Linked DNA regions of Homo sapiens: region 2 is linked to region 1. Evidence: promoter capture Hi-C in 16 types of primary human blood cells and fetal thymus (Javierre and others, 2016). All regions are on one chromosome and are shown on one strand. Each heading gives the region's core, a stretch centred on a gene start or on the middle of the fragment in contact. The rest is flanking DNA. Distances are from core to core; before and after follow the strand shown. Region 1 holds the start of GAD2 (glutamate decarboxylase 2). Region 2 has its middle 60 kb from the start of MYO3A.

Region 1 (6,574 bases), core at 3,247-5,746:
GTGACTCCTGTGGACTCCACTGCGCCTGGGATCTCGCCAACCCCTCTCTCATTTGGGGTGACTGAATTCACAGATTTTTTTTTTTATTGGAAACGGCTTTTCTTGGCCAACAGAACACTTGCTAGCGGTTGAATCTTAGAGAAAAAAGCCCGGGAGGGGTGGGGAGAATTTCGAAGATGTATTTCATCTCAAGCTTGCTCTTTCTCTTCCTTTGGTTATTAAGGTCACTAAATAAAGGAAGTGCCTTGGAAAACCCGTGGTTTGCGTGACTGATCCCTCATTTTCCCCTCTAGGGCTTCTGAGGGGCTTCTGCTATAAGGCTGTGCTGGTGACGGGCCCAAGGAGGGGCGTTGAGGTGCCTTCATCAGCGAACTCCCAGCACCACCCAGCCACTTCAGACAAACACAATCTAAGCTAAAACCCCTTGCCACACAAACGCAGAGGCCTCCAATGTCTAAATCCCCAACACACCACACGTGCTCGCCTGCACGATGCCTTCCCAATCTGCGTGACTGTCTTTGGCCCCATCTATAAAGATGCTAGTGCCCCCACTGGGTGGAACTGTCAGATTTCAGGTTCTCCCGGTCTGCAGATTTGGGGCCATCTTTGCTACTCCGACTTTGTGTGTATTTAAAATGGGGGAGGCTAGTGGGTGGACAGAAGTTTGCATTCCTGGGTTGACTGCACCTTATTCTAAAACCCGGTTTAAGCTGTTTTATGAAACTGACATTCCCATCTAAGCAACCTGGAGAGGGTGAGGACAGGTGATGAGGTCGTTGCATGGAATTGGAAGAAGGGTTCTGATCACGATGGGGCTCACCCCTTGTGTGGGTGCCCTTGGCTCCTGCACCCACAAGCCGGAGTCAAAAGACTCTGGGGAAATATTCGAGGAGTGAGTGAGGGCATGTGCAGAGGGCTCAGAGCGTTTGTTGCGCCGCTGGTCCACAGGGCATAGTAATCTCGCCAACTCAAAGAGTTGGCACCAAAAGGTCCCCAGAGCCAACTCGTGTAATCTCTTCATTTTACAGATGCAATGTGGCCAAGGGAAAACCTGCAGCTATGGCATGGCAGAGTCCAAGTGCCCTCCAGGCCTTCTTTTTCCCTGGGTTAGCGGCACAGTCTTGCTGGGGTTGCGACTGAAAGTAAGGAGTAACCCTCAGCTGTGCGAATGCACTGAGGAGCTGAGTATGGCCCAGTACCCAGGAAACCAGCACAGCAGGTCACCAGAGAGAGGGGCTTGGGAGGGGCAGGGGTGTCTAAAGCCCAAAGTGGCCTGGCCCCCTTCCACCTCTAGCTGCCTGTCCACTTGCCTCCAGAAGGCCTGGGTTTGTGGGGAGGGCGGAGCAGGGGCCAGGGGTAAGGAGCAGTAAGCTAAGCTCAGCTTTTCTGCCTGGCCACCCTTCAATCTAGGCGTCCTTCTTGGGTGGCCCCTGAAGACAAGAGCCCTGGCACTCAGCCCCTTCTGTTATTTCTGTTGGTGTAGGGAGAATTTATGGAGGGAGGCAACAGACTCCCTCCCTAAATTTTTCCTGCACCAATGTTTTAAGTGAGAATAGAAAAGAGAATGGCAAAGGCTTGGTGAATGCTTGGTTGCAATATTTTTGTGTTCTTCCGTGGTTGTTTCCTCTTTTTCTTTCCATCTTCCCTTCTTTCTCTGTCCTTTGACATTTAAGCACGGGAAGGACACAGGAAAATGTGTGCCAGACACTCTTCTTTGGGTCAGCCTGAGACCCATATGTTGGTAAACCAGACACCTAAGGAAACTGTCCCTACAAGTCGGAGGATTGGGTCTCTCGCCCCTCATCTGAGGAAGGGCCTTCCAAAGCGGCCGCCTTCCCTTCCCATTCACTGGCTGCCTCCTTTGTGAACTAATGACTGTAATTATTACCTCCCAGAGCTCTTTTGTTATCTCCAACCCCAAGCCCCGGAGAGGGGGAATGGGCTCTTTAGTGAAATGAAAGTCATTACAAAGCAAATTACCGTCTAGGGAGGGACAGCCTTCAGGAAAGACAAATCAGATCTCCATCTGCATCTGAAGTAGGGTGTGTTTAAATAAAAAATGTAAATATCACCATTAGATCCAAAGTACTCCAGAGCTGTGGGATTTAATGGAGTTTAAACGGTAGCACTTGAAGCCATTGCTTTACCAAAAAGAAAAAAAAATCAGTTAAATTCAGGTGTTTTAATCCGTTTCTTCTTTGGGGGTTTTGTGTGATTTAAACGCTTGCTTTTAAGAACCTTTATGTTTTCAACCACTCATCCATAGTAGAAAAGTTCTGCAACCCTAGACTGCTGGCTTGAAGGAAAACCTTTGCAGGATTTGATATGGATTTCAACAAAGAACCAGCCTCTGCGAGGCTGGAGAGAGCTGCGGAGCTGCCATGCCTGAAGTGCAGATGGCTGAACCACAAGTCTTTAGGTTTCCGGAGTTGTTATTGTGGTGACCTAGAGTGTCAGAGCCAGGAGAGCAAGAAAGAGGAGCCAAACTGAGCCCTGAGTTTTCGACCACCCGGGCTCCCACAGCCTGGAACAGACTTCACCTAGCACGCTCAGTGCCAGCCTTCGGCAGGACGCTATCAACGCCCGACTGGTTTCCTGCTCTCATCCTGGCGCCTGGGCCCAGTTGCCATAGTGTGGATCCCATGACTCCTCAGGGAACCCCTGGACTCAGGCACGCGAGAAGAAGACAGCGCTTTGTGGAGAGAATTGACCAGGGACAGTTATGCTCGAGCACACAGGACTTGGGCCTGTATGCGTCCAGCATGGGCCCCAGGATGTCCCTTCTAAGCGAGGGTCGAGGGGTGCTCGCCCAGACGGGATCCCCGGGTCTCTGCTTTGTTAGCAGCTTTGGTGGCTGGTTCAGGAGGTCAGAGAAATAAAACGACTTGTGAACACAATGGAAATGACAGGCGCTCTGGCCAGGCGCGGGGAAGGCAGCCGCCTCGGGAAGCCGACCTCAGCCCTTTCCTCTCTCTCCCTCCCTCCGTCTCCCCCAGAGCCCCGGAGCTCCGAGGTGCACTTGAAGTTCATCTCCACTGCCAGGAGAACGCAGCGCAAACTGTCAAAGGGCTCCCAATCCTTAGGGCGTCCTCCCTGTCTGCAATAGCTTTTTGTAGAAAGGAAATCATCAGAACGATTCTGACTTTCTCCTCCTTTCTTTATTAGAAAAAGAGAAACCGCCTCCTAATACGCCTCAGAGAGAACCAATCTCGCGCTTCCGGGTCACCCGCTACCGCGAAGATTCTCTGGGGGCGAGGGGGGGCATTGGTTTGAAGCCCCTTAAAACGAGGGCCCTGCAGGCGATGCCTTCTTTCCTACTCGGATTTGTAAAGCCGAGATTGCTTAGTTGGAAACCCTGTTCTCCCCTCCCAGGCGCACACAGATCCCCCTTACACGCAAGCAGCGGGCGCTTCCACGCCTCCGCGGGCCAAGGTCACCAAATGCCCTGATTCCATCCCCCACCCGCCATCAATCCTGCCGACTCTGGCCGCTCTGCCTCATTCTCTTCCAAGAAGTTTCCATTCGTTTTATTTTTTTTTCCCCAGCCCGAGGTCCTCAGTAGACTCCAGCGTGGATTTTAATTGCCTCAATCAGCAGTCATTCTCCCCAGCCGTCACTCAGAGCCTGGACGGTGGGTCCCGCGATCTAGCCCTTGGCTACGCAGGAACGGTGCGCCCCCGGGTACGGCGCGGTTCAGCAGGCAGGCGTCAGGTTCTACCAAGGCGCTGAAATGAGCCCATCAGCGGGTAGGAGCCCTTCCCCCGCCGTCCCCTCCCCAGGCTCGTGAACGGCGCCTGATGCCCGCCCGGGGCGCGAGCTCTCGAGGTCGCAGTGACCTCAGCACCTGCTTGGAGGAAAACGGCGCGGGAACCCCGCTTCCTTCCCCTCAGCTGGAGCCAGACCTCAAACAAAACCCCAATCGATGCACACAGAAAACTCCTCTGGGCCACGCTTCCCGCCTCGCCGAGGTCTCCCCAGTCTGCCCCTCGCTGACGCTGGCGCGCAGCGGCTGTGGCAGCACCCGGGACAGCGGCCGCCCGCACTTCCCGCCTCTGGCTCGCCCGAGGACGCGCTGGCACGCCTCCCACCCCCTCACTCTGACTCCAGCTGGCGTGCATGGTCTGCCTCGCATCCTCACGACTCAGCTCCCTCCCTCTCTCGTGTTTTTTTCCTCCGCCGCCCCCTCATTCATCCCCACTGGGCTCCCTTTCCCTCAAATGCTCTGGGGCTCTCCGCGCTTTCCTGAGTCCGGGCTCCGAGGACCCTTAGGTAGTCCCGGTCTCTTTTAAAGCTCCCCGGCTTCCAAAGGGTTGCCACGTCCCTAAACCCTGTCTCCAGCTCGCATACACACACGCACAGACACGCACGTTTTCTGTTCCTGCGTGACACCCGCCCTCGCCGCTCGGCCCCGCCGGTCCCCGCGCGGTGCCCTCCTCCCGCCACACGGGCACGCACGCGCGCGCAGGGCCAAGCCCGAGGCAGCTCGCCCGCAGCTCGCACTCGCAGGCGACCTGCTCCAGTCTCCAAAGCCGATGGCATCTCCGGGCTCTGGCTTTTGGTCTTTCGGGTCGGAAGATGGCTCTGGGGATTCCGAGAATCCCGGCACAGGTAGGAAGGAGAACGGGGGCCTGCGGCGGGCGAGTTTTGCGGTGGTCTGGGGTTTGCGGAACTACGGAGAAGACGAAGGAGGTTTTTCCACCTGCAACAGGAAACTTCTTCGGGCGCTTCTCCCTGCTTTTGGGCTAAGTCCTTGACGGCCCAAGAGCTCAAGACCTCTACAGCCTCTTGTACCCTGGGAAGACGCCCAAATAGTCTCAGGCCCGTTCCACAGAAGGTTGGAAGAGCCCCCCAAAGACCGCGGTGTCTCGGGGACATGGAATTCCGTGGTCCTGGGGCGCTGCTAAGATCCGGGTGTCTGGACCCTGGGGTGGGACGGAGTGACCGTGAAGATAGAAAAAAAAAATGGGAAAGGTGAGAGATTTCTTTATCTAGAAAGACAGTCTGCGAAAAAATGGATAGCTTCAGTGTTTAGGAAAACTCGTCCAAGGTAGGCAGGGAGAGGAATTTGCCTGAGCCGATTGGCACCTGGAAGGGCAGCGGTGTGGGCTTCTCCTCGGGAAACAGATAAAGGAAATGAGGGCTGGCCCGGGCCGCCAGCCTCCCGCTTGCCTTCTGCACCTGCCGGCCTCACCGAGTCCTGAGCGGCCCCCAGGAGGAAGGCGGCCCCTCCTAGGACCCCGGACTGATTGATTTTCACATAGAACGAAATTTCACACGTCCGTCTGTTGTTCTCTTTCTGCCTCGCTGTCTGCCTGCCTATTCTTCCTTGCAGCGCGAGCCTGGTGCCAAGTGGCTCAGAAGTTCACGGGCGGCATCGGAAACAAACTGTGCGGTGAGTGCCCAGGGACCGGGGCGGCCAAGGTCGGCCCGCGGGGTCCAAGCAGTCTTCTCACCTCCGCATCCCAGTCAGCGGAGTCGGGGTTTCCTGGCTGCGGGTAGGCGGGAGCGAGGGAGCCGGGCCCGGCGGAGGATTGACGAGGCCCGCGTTCGGTGTCCTTACCCAGCCCTGCTCTACGGAGACGCCGAGAAGCCGGCGGAGAGCGGCGGGAGCCAACCCCCGCGGGCCGCCGCCCGGAAGGCCGCCTGCGCCTGCGACCAGAAGCCCTGCAGCTGCTCCAAAGTGGATGTCAACTACGCGTTTCTCCATGCAACAGGTAAAGACTCAGCGGGGAGCCCCGGGGCGCCCCTGCCCCTCTCTCTGCCCCGCCCACCGCGGCCGGTGCGGGTCCGGCGCTGAGAGCCGGACAGGGGCGTCGAGGTGGCAGCGGAGGCGGGACCTGCCAGAATCTTCAGATAAAAGCGAGAAATGCGGGACCTGCCCGCTGGGTCCAAGCCCCCGAACCTGGCCTCGGAGCTCCAAGAGGGCTCTGAGGCCGTGGCGCTCTTCCCCCAGCGCGGCCCTTGGGATGGCGGGTGGCCGACGATCCAGGCGCTCGTGCGCTCACTGAATCGATGACGGCTGGCTTCCCTAGGCCGCTGGGGCCTCGGGTGGGACTCAGTTTCCAAATACCGTGCCCGAGAATTCAGAATTGCATTTTTTTTAGGTCTTTAGATCACGAGAGTGATTTGTAGCTGCAATTGCACAAGAGAACGATTCCATTCACATGAAACCCGCGCGCCGAGTTTTACCCCCGTGCACTTACACACCGTCTCCCAAATGTACGCGCGCACACACACATGCAGACACACATGCATACGCTCTCTCTCTCTCTCTCACACACACACACACACACACACACACACACACACACTGACTTTAGAAACAGCGGGCCTTCCTATCAGACCAGAGATCCTAATGCACCTGTTCCACTTTGGTTTGCCCGAAGGCATTCGAGACAAACACTTCTGACGTGAAATATTTATGTAAACATGTAAGATGGTTTACTGAGAAACACGTTTAAGACGAACTCCTGTGAACTAGATAAACGGAGGTACACGCTCTTCAAAAAAAGAAGGCAAACAATATAAGTTATGAATTGAAATGCAGTAATTAATTTGGGGAAGAGAAGAAATC
Region 2 (6,574 bases), core at 2,580-5,079, 340 kb before region 1:
ATTACCCAATTTTGGGTATGTCTTTATTAGCAGCATGAGAACAGACTAATACACACACATATATCCAACCAACCTAGATTCGATAATTGTTAACATTTTGCCAGATTGCTTTATTATGTTTTCATCGATCCACTTTTCTATCCATTTCATTTTCTGAAGTACACATCAGTACATTTCACCCCTAAGCATTTCAGCCATATACATGTAGTATTTTGTTGTTGTCATTGTTGTTGTTTAGAGATGGGATCTTACTATGTTGCTGCCAGGCTAGAGTGCAGTGCTATGACCATAGTTTATTGCAGCCTCAAACTCTTGGCCTCAAGTGATCCTCCTGCCTCAGCCTCCCAAGTAGCTGGGATTACAGGCATGCACCACAGTGTCCAGCTTGCATGTAAGTTTTAAGGAAAGTTCTATCTACTTCAGATTTTGTTTTGGCTTCAAAGTTATAAAATTTTCATGGAGTTCCAGTGGGGTGGGGATGGAGGGGTTGGGGTGTGAAGAGAACTGTTAGTAGCTTTAGAGAGTTCATGAAAGTAGAAAATAGGTATATTCAACTTATTTGTAATAAGTCCTGGATGTCTTGGAGCTACTATAAGGTGTCTTTGAGTTCATATATGGGTTAAACTTTGTTTATAGACTGAATAAATGCTGTATATGTACGAATATAAATAAAATATATATAGGTAGGGATGTGATTACTAGTAGAGTTACATAAATGCACTCAAAGATGAGGCTGAATTTACAGTAGTATTTGTCATCACATATTTTCTCAATCAATAAGTATCAAAACACAATGACTAGCATGGAAGATCATCCTTCAAAAGTACTTCACACATTAGGAATGACCTCTTTCAAGAGAACCAGAACATTTCAGACAAAGAGACTTTGGGCTGCCTGTGTGGATGATGACGATGACAACTCAGCAGTACTGCCACTTGATGTTGTGCTCTTTACCCAGGATAAGTTTGTTGAAAATGAGCTACTTGAAGCTAGTTTCCTGAACAAAGTGCAGTGTGGACAGCTGTTTAAGCCATCAGATGTAGGTCAAAGTCTGCAACACTAAATAGGATTTTTTTTTTTTTGCCTTTAATTCCAGAACAAAAGTTGTTTTGGGACTAAGTTGTAGGAGAATGTTATAGATCCTTGGGTTTTGGTGCTCATGGAGAACTAAACCATATTAATATGAACAAGAGACGGTGGGAGTGGCTTTCTGACAGTAGTTAAAATTTCCTGCAGGCCGGGCACAGTGGCTTATGGCTATAATCCCAGCACTTTGGGAGGCTGAGACGAGAGGATTGCTTGAGGCCTGGAGTTCAAGACCAAGCTTGGCAACATGGCAAGATGCCCATATCTACAAAAATTAAAATTAAAAAAAATAGCTGGACATGGTAGCACTTGCCTGTAGTCCAGTAACTTGGGAGGCTGAGGCAGGAGGATCACCTAAGCCCAGGGGGGTCGAGGCTACAGTGAACCATAAGCACACCACTGCACTCCAGCCTGGGCAGCAGAGCAAGACATTGTACCTAAAAAAATGCAAACCACCATGGCACACGTTTACCTATGTAACAGACCTGCATCTCCTGCACGTGTGCCCTGGAACATAAAATAAAAGTTGAAAAATAAAATAAAATAAAATAAATCTTCCTGCAAAGGAAAACACAGCAGTTTTGCTGAGTCCCTTTAAAAAAAAACAAAAAACAAAAAAAACAAACAAAAAAAACCCAAACTTGTTTTCTAGTAGTCAATCAATTACCAATTTTGGGTGCAGCTGGTGTACCAAAAGTAGGAAAACCAGTTTGCCTCCATATGCAGTTGATGCTTTTACTATCTAAAGCTGACAAGTACTGACCCTGCTAGTAAATTATCTCTCTGCATAAGAACCATAGCTATATTTTCCTAAAAATGAAGATATTATTCATGAAAGGTGAAAATGTAGTTGCTAAGCACATGTGTTCTAGATTTAGATGTCTTGTCAAAACCCTTAGCTCTATCATTTGTTAGCCTGTTTGACCTTAGACAAATTATATGACCTCACTCTACCTCATCTGTAGATTAGGAGTAGTAACAGATTTTGCCCGTAAAATTAAATGAGATACTACATTTGAAGTGCTTACTTACCACACTGCTTGGCCACAGCAAACAGTCAATTAAAGTTTATTATTATTATTGTTTTAGAAGACAAGTCTCCAGCTTTTAAATTGGTAATACATAGAATTCCTAGGCAAAATTATTATTAATAAAATAGTATTATTTTATTATAAAATTTGTGACATTATTTTATTATAAAAGTTCAGGATGGAAAGCCTTCTCAAACATTTGTTTTATTGTGGATTCTTCTAGAAGTAGAATTGTTCAAACCTGGGCATTCGGATGGTAGTTTAAGGTGGCTGAAATGAAGGTCTAGTTATGCCTTGTCTTACAAATTTCAGGCTAAAACTATTTTGCCCCTGGCAATGAAATAGAACCATGGAAAATCTATTAATTGACCACTTATCTGTACAATTAGAAAAATTCAGAACTGTCTGGAAACGATCTTGGCCCAAATTTTGGTTCCTCTCTCAGCTCACCTCAGAACACTAGCATGGATTCTGGTTACGAAAGAGCCCCTCTTGGCTCCTCAGTTTCCATATTTGGATCTTAACCAACCCTTAGTTGATCATGATTAAGAAAGATAATTTGGAACCAGATGCAGTGGGTCATGCCTGTAATCCCAGTGCTTTGGAAGGCCAAGGAGGGAGGATTGCTTGAGAACAGCCTGGGCAACATAGTGAGACCCAGTCTCTACAAAAAAAAAAGAATTAAAAAATTAGCCAGGCATGAGCCTGTAGTCCTAACTACTTGGGAGGCTGAGGTGAGAGGTTCACTTGAGCCTAGGAGTTTGACGTTGCTGGCAGTGAGCTATGATGGCACACTTCAGCCTGGCAGACAGACCAAGACCCTGTCAAGAAAAAGAAAAAGAGAAGAGAAGAAGAGAGGAGGGAAAGGAAAGGAAAGGAAAGGAAAGGAAGGGAAGGGAAGGGAAGGGAAGGGAAGGGAAGGGAAGGGAAGGGAAGGGAAGGGAAGGGAAGGGAAGGGAAGGGAAGGGAAGGGAAGGGAAGGGAAGGGAAGGGAAGGGAAGGGAAGGGAAGGGAAGGGAAGGGAAGGGAAGGGAAGGGAAGGGAAGGGAAGGGAAGGGAAGGGAAGGGAAGGGGGAAGGGAGGGGAAGGATAGGGAAGGGAAGGGAAGGGAAGGGATGGGAAGGGAAGGGAGAAGGAAGGTGAGTTGGTTCTCACCTATAAGCAAAGAACTAGCTCTTGTCCAGAAGCTTCCTCGAGAACACAACCTAGTGTTCACTGCCCTTCAAATAACTAAACACAGTGTGCAAGGTGGAATGCTTACATATGTCTCTGATGCAGAAGTTTAGCAAAGAGGAAGATACCTATAATTCGACTCTTCCAGAGAGTATTGTTTAGACAAACTGTAGATTATTGTAATGTCATAAACCTATACAAGAGCCTTATAAGAAAAGGCCACAAATGCATTATGATGACATGATTTATGTTATACCTTGTCCTATGAGGAATCCTGGAGAAATTCTTGTCTGACCCTAGAATCAAAAAGACTTGGAATTTTACTGAGCTGTTGTATTTGCTTTTAATTTCATGAACACTCTGAGTCAGATCTGTTCTGGTTTCCTTTTTGACCCTGCCTGGGAACGCTGTAGTGGGCTTTCAGCTGTCCACAAATTTCTGCCTCCTCTCCTTACACATGGAAGACCTGACTTTTCCCCTCTCTTGTGGGTAGAGACATGAGGCAAGTTCTGGCCAATGAGAGTGAGTAGAAATGATGTGATCAGAGCATTTAATTGCTAATGCAAGATTTTTCAAAGCTCTTCCCCTCTGCCATGGTGGCAGGCAGTGTGAGTGACAATGGCTGCTCCATTCGCTTAGAAACCAAAAATAAGCCTGAGATCTGTAACGAAAGAGAAATTAAAGCACTGTTGTCAAAAACTCCTGAGATTTGGGAGCTGTCTTTACCATAGTAGAACCTGGTGCATCCTGATTAATACACAGCTAAATATATCATCGATGGGAGGATGGTCAGTTGTTATTTTACATGTATTTTGATTTAATTTCTTGATCACTTTGCCTCACCCTTGTTATCTTTTCTCATCCAATGCAGCCTAATGTTTTCAATTTTGTCATATTTTATGAGTTCTTGTAAGTCAACTTTGAGAATAGATGGGAAATGATTAAGTTAACTTAACGAATTTATGTGAACCCTGGAGAAACACCTCAGGGTGAGTTGGCTATGCAGGATAAACAGATTTTAAGTACAGCTGCTCTGGAAATTGTTTTCTTAACAGAGAAAATACCTAAGCTTAGGACTAGTAGCTGCATTTCCAGAGGGATGCACTAGAGGGCGCGTGGAGCTTGGTGTGCTCGACAGTCACGGTACCCTTTGGCCTTCTTGGGTACACTGAGAAGAGATATTGTCAAGGGATTATGGCGGGAGTTTTTGTTTGCATGATTTCCTATATTCGAAATTTCAGAAACTGGTATTGATTTACTTTCTTTTTATGCAAAATTGACCCTAAGAAAAATGAGGTTATAAAAATGTTCACTTGTCTGTAACATTATTTTATTATAAAATGTTAGAATTGAAGAGCATCTTAATGGAGGTTTATGGAGTCTTTCTTCACATCAGGAATTATTTTTCAATGCAGAATTCCACCCAAACTTATTCAATGTTCTGCTAATTTTCTGACCTCTTCCCTCAAAATTAACATGTCCTAGCTTCTATTTCCTAGGAGGGGCTTATTAAGTGGCCAGTTTGTTAATCTGGTTATCTAATTTGAAACAAAATGTTAATGGCTAACAATACCTTAGCTATTAACCATACCTACCTGTCCAGATAGAATTGTTTTTAACTGGCTGTAACATCAACATAAAAGGGAACAACATGGGTAAGTGTGGGAGTGGATTCCAGGTGTCAGTTTCATAAGCAACCTCCTGTATGATATTCATCCAAGACAACAGCTTTATTCTCAGGAGAATTACTACTCATATAATAAGTTAAATCTGGTATGATATTCATCCAAGACAACAGCTTTATTCTCAGGAGAATTACTACTCATATGCTAAGTTAAAATGTCATTAAATATTTTATAGAGGAATTTTGTTGTTCGGATTCCCTGTTTGAGGTTAATGCTACTTACTGCTTCTGGAGTTTTGGTAGGTTATAAGCTGTTTCTGTGGTTGTTCAGATCTTTGGTAATAGTAACAGGAATTGGATACAGGGTTGAAATGCATTTGTTAATCTCTAAACATTCTTTTAGTCAATAGCTTTAGCCTCCTTTCTTTTGAGGAAAAGTAAGGATAAATGAAAGAACACAAACTTTGGAGTCAAATAAATCTGGAGTTGGCCGGGTGCGGTGGCTCACGCCTGTAATGCCAGCACTTTGGGAGGCCGAGGTGGGCGGATCACGAGGTCAGGAAATCGAGACGATCCTGGCTAACACGATGAAACCCTGTCTCTAATAAAAATACAGAAAATTAGCTGGGCGTGGTGACGGGTGCCTGTAGCCCCAGCTACTCGAGAGGCTGAGGCAGGAGAATGGCGTGAACCCAGGAGGCGGAGCTTGCAGTGAGCCGAGATCGCGCCACTGCACTCCAGCCTGGGCGACAGAGCGAGACTCCGTCTCAAAAATAAATAAATAAATAAATAAATAAATAAATAAATAAATAAATAAATAAATAAATCTGGAGTTAGATACAAACTATCATCATATCCCAAGTTTTAAATTCCTCAACTGTAAAATGGGGATAAAAAACACATCTCAAAGATTTGGGGGAAGACTTATATCTTATGAAAAGTCCTTGAAATGTCTCAAAAAAATCTGTTTTCCATCAAATCTTTTGTGAAATATGAAACTCATTAATAAAATCAATGTATTTTAATTGCATTTCTGATATACAGAATTGAAATCACATTTCTAGTTAATGTTGGCAAAGTGAGGCAGCTGATAGATGGTTCTAATAATGAGATCCCCAAGGTGGACAGAGTGGACTTGGGTTTGGTGTTAGAACCCAGTGAACAATCAAATTGTGGAAGGTCCTGGCATCCCAGTCTCCCAGTGGGAGTGAGTCAATAGTGAGCCCTTTGACTGGCAGCCTCAGCCTCCCACATGAGCCTTTATTTCTGTCTCAGCTCCATCTGACAAACTCTCATGATTCCACATGAAGAGCAAGTGAAAATTTACACTAAGACAGTCAATAGAGTTTAAATCTTTGTGTTGCTTAGCCACAAGGTTCTTTTTTAAAAATTAGTCTTTTCAATAGAATAGTTAACTGCTCTGAAGGAATGTTTAGTTTTAGGGACATCTCCCAGGTCATGAATTATTATCTCAGTATCTGCTAAAATAACTGTATGCTAAATTAAATTCCATTATTGTAAACTGTCATTTCAAAGTAACTAGTTAAGTGCAACATTTTTTTTTAAACCAGTTAGAATATGTAGACCAGGCTTGGAGGCTCATGCCTATAGTCTTGGCTGCTCGGGAGGCTGAAGCATAAGAGTCCCTTGAGCCCAGGAG

Evidence for each region. The method cuts DNA at HindIII sites, captures the fragments that hold promoters and counts their contacts. A CHiCAGO score of 5 or more calls a contact.
Region 2: a fragment that was not itself captured here is called in contact with the fragment with the promoter of GAD2 in region 1 in 1 of 17 cell types (total B cells); the score reaches 5.8 in total B cells.

Annotation. Positions count from the first base shown.
Region 1 is chr10:26,212,278-26,218,851 of GRCh38, forward strand. It overlaps GAD2 (glutamate decarboxylase 2), which reads left to right and starts at 4,497. Exons shown (of 16, transcript NM_001134366.2): 1 at 4,497-4,608; 2 at 5,333-5,392; 3 at 5,565-5,714. The coding sequence starts at 4,533. MYO3A (myosin IIIA) reads left to right here. Exons shown (of 35, transcript NM_017433.5): 35 at 1-255. RefSeq lists enhancers at 1,511-2,078, 2,079-2,644, 2,645-3,211, 5,821-6,449. The HindIII fragment of the contact is 6,458 bases long and covers 192-6,574 here.
Region 2 is chr10:25,871,360-25,877,933 of GRCh38, forward strand. No RefSeq gene overlaps it. Among named protein-coding and RNA genes, the nearest start is that of MYO3A, 60 kb to the right of the region's middle. RefSeq lists a silencer at 4,306-4,485. The HindIII fragment of the contact is 1,055 bases long and covers 3,303-4,357 here.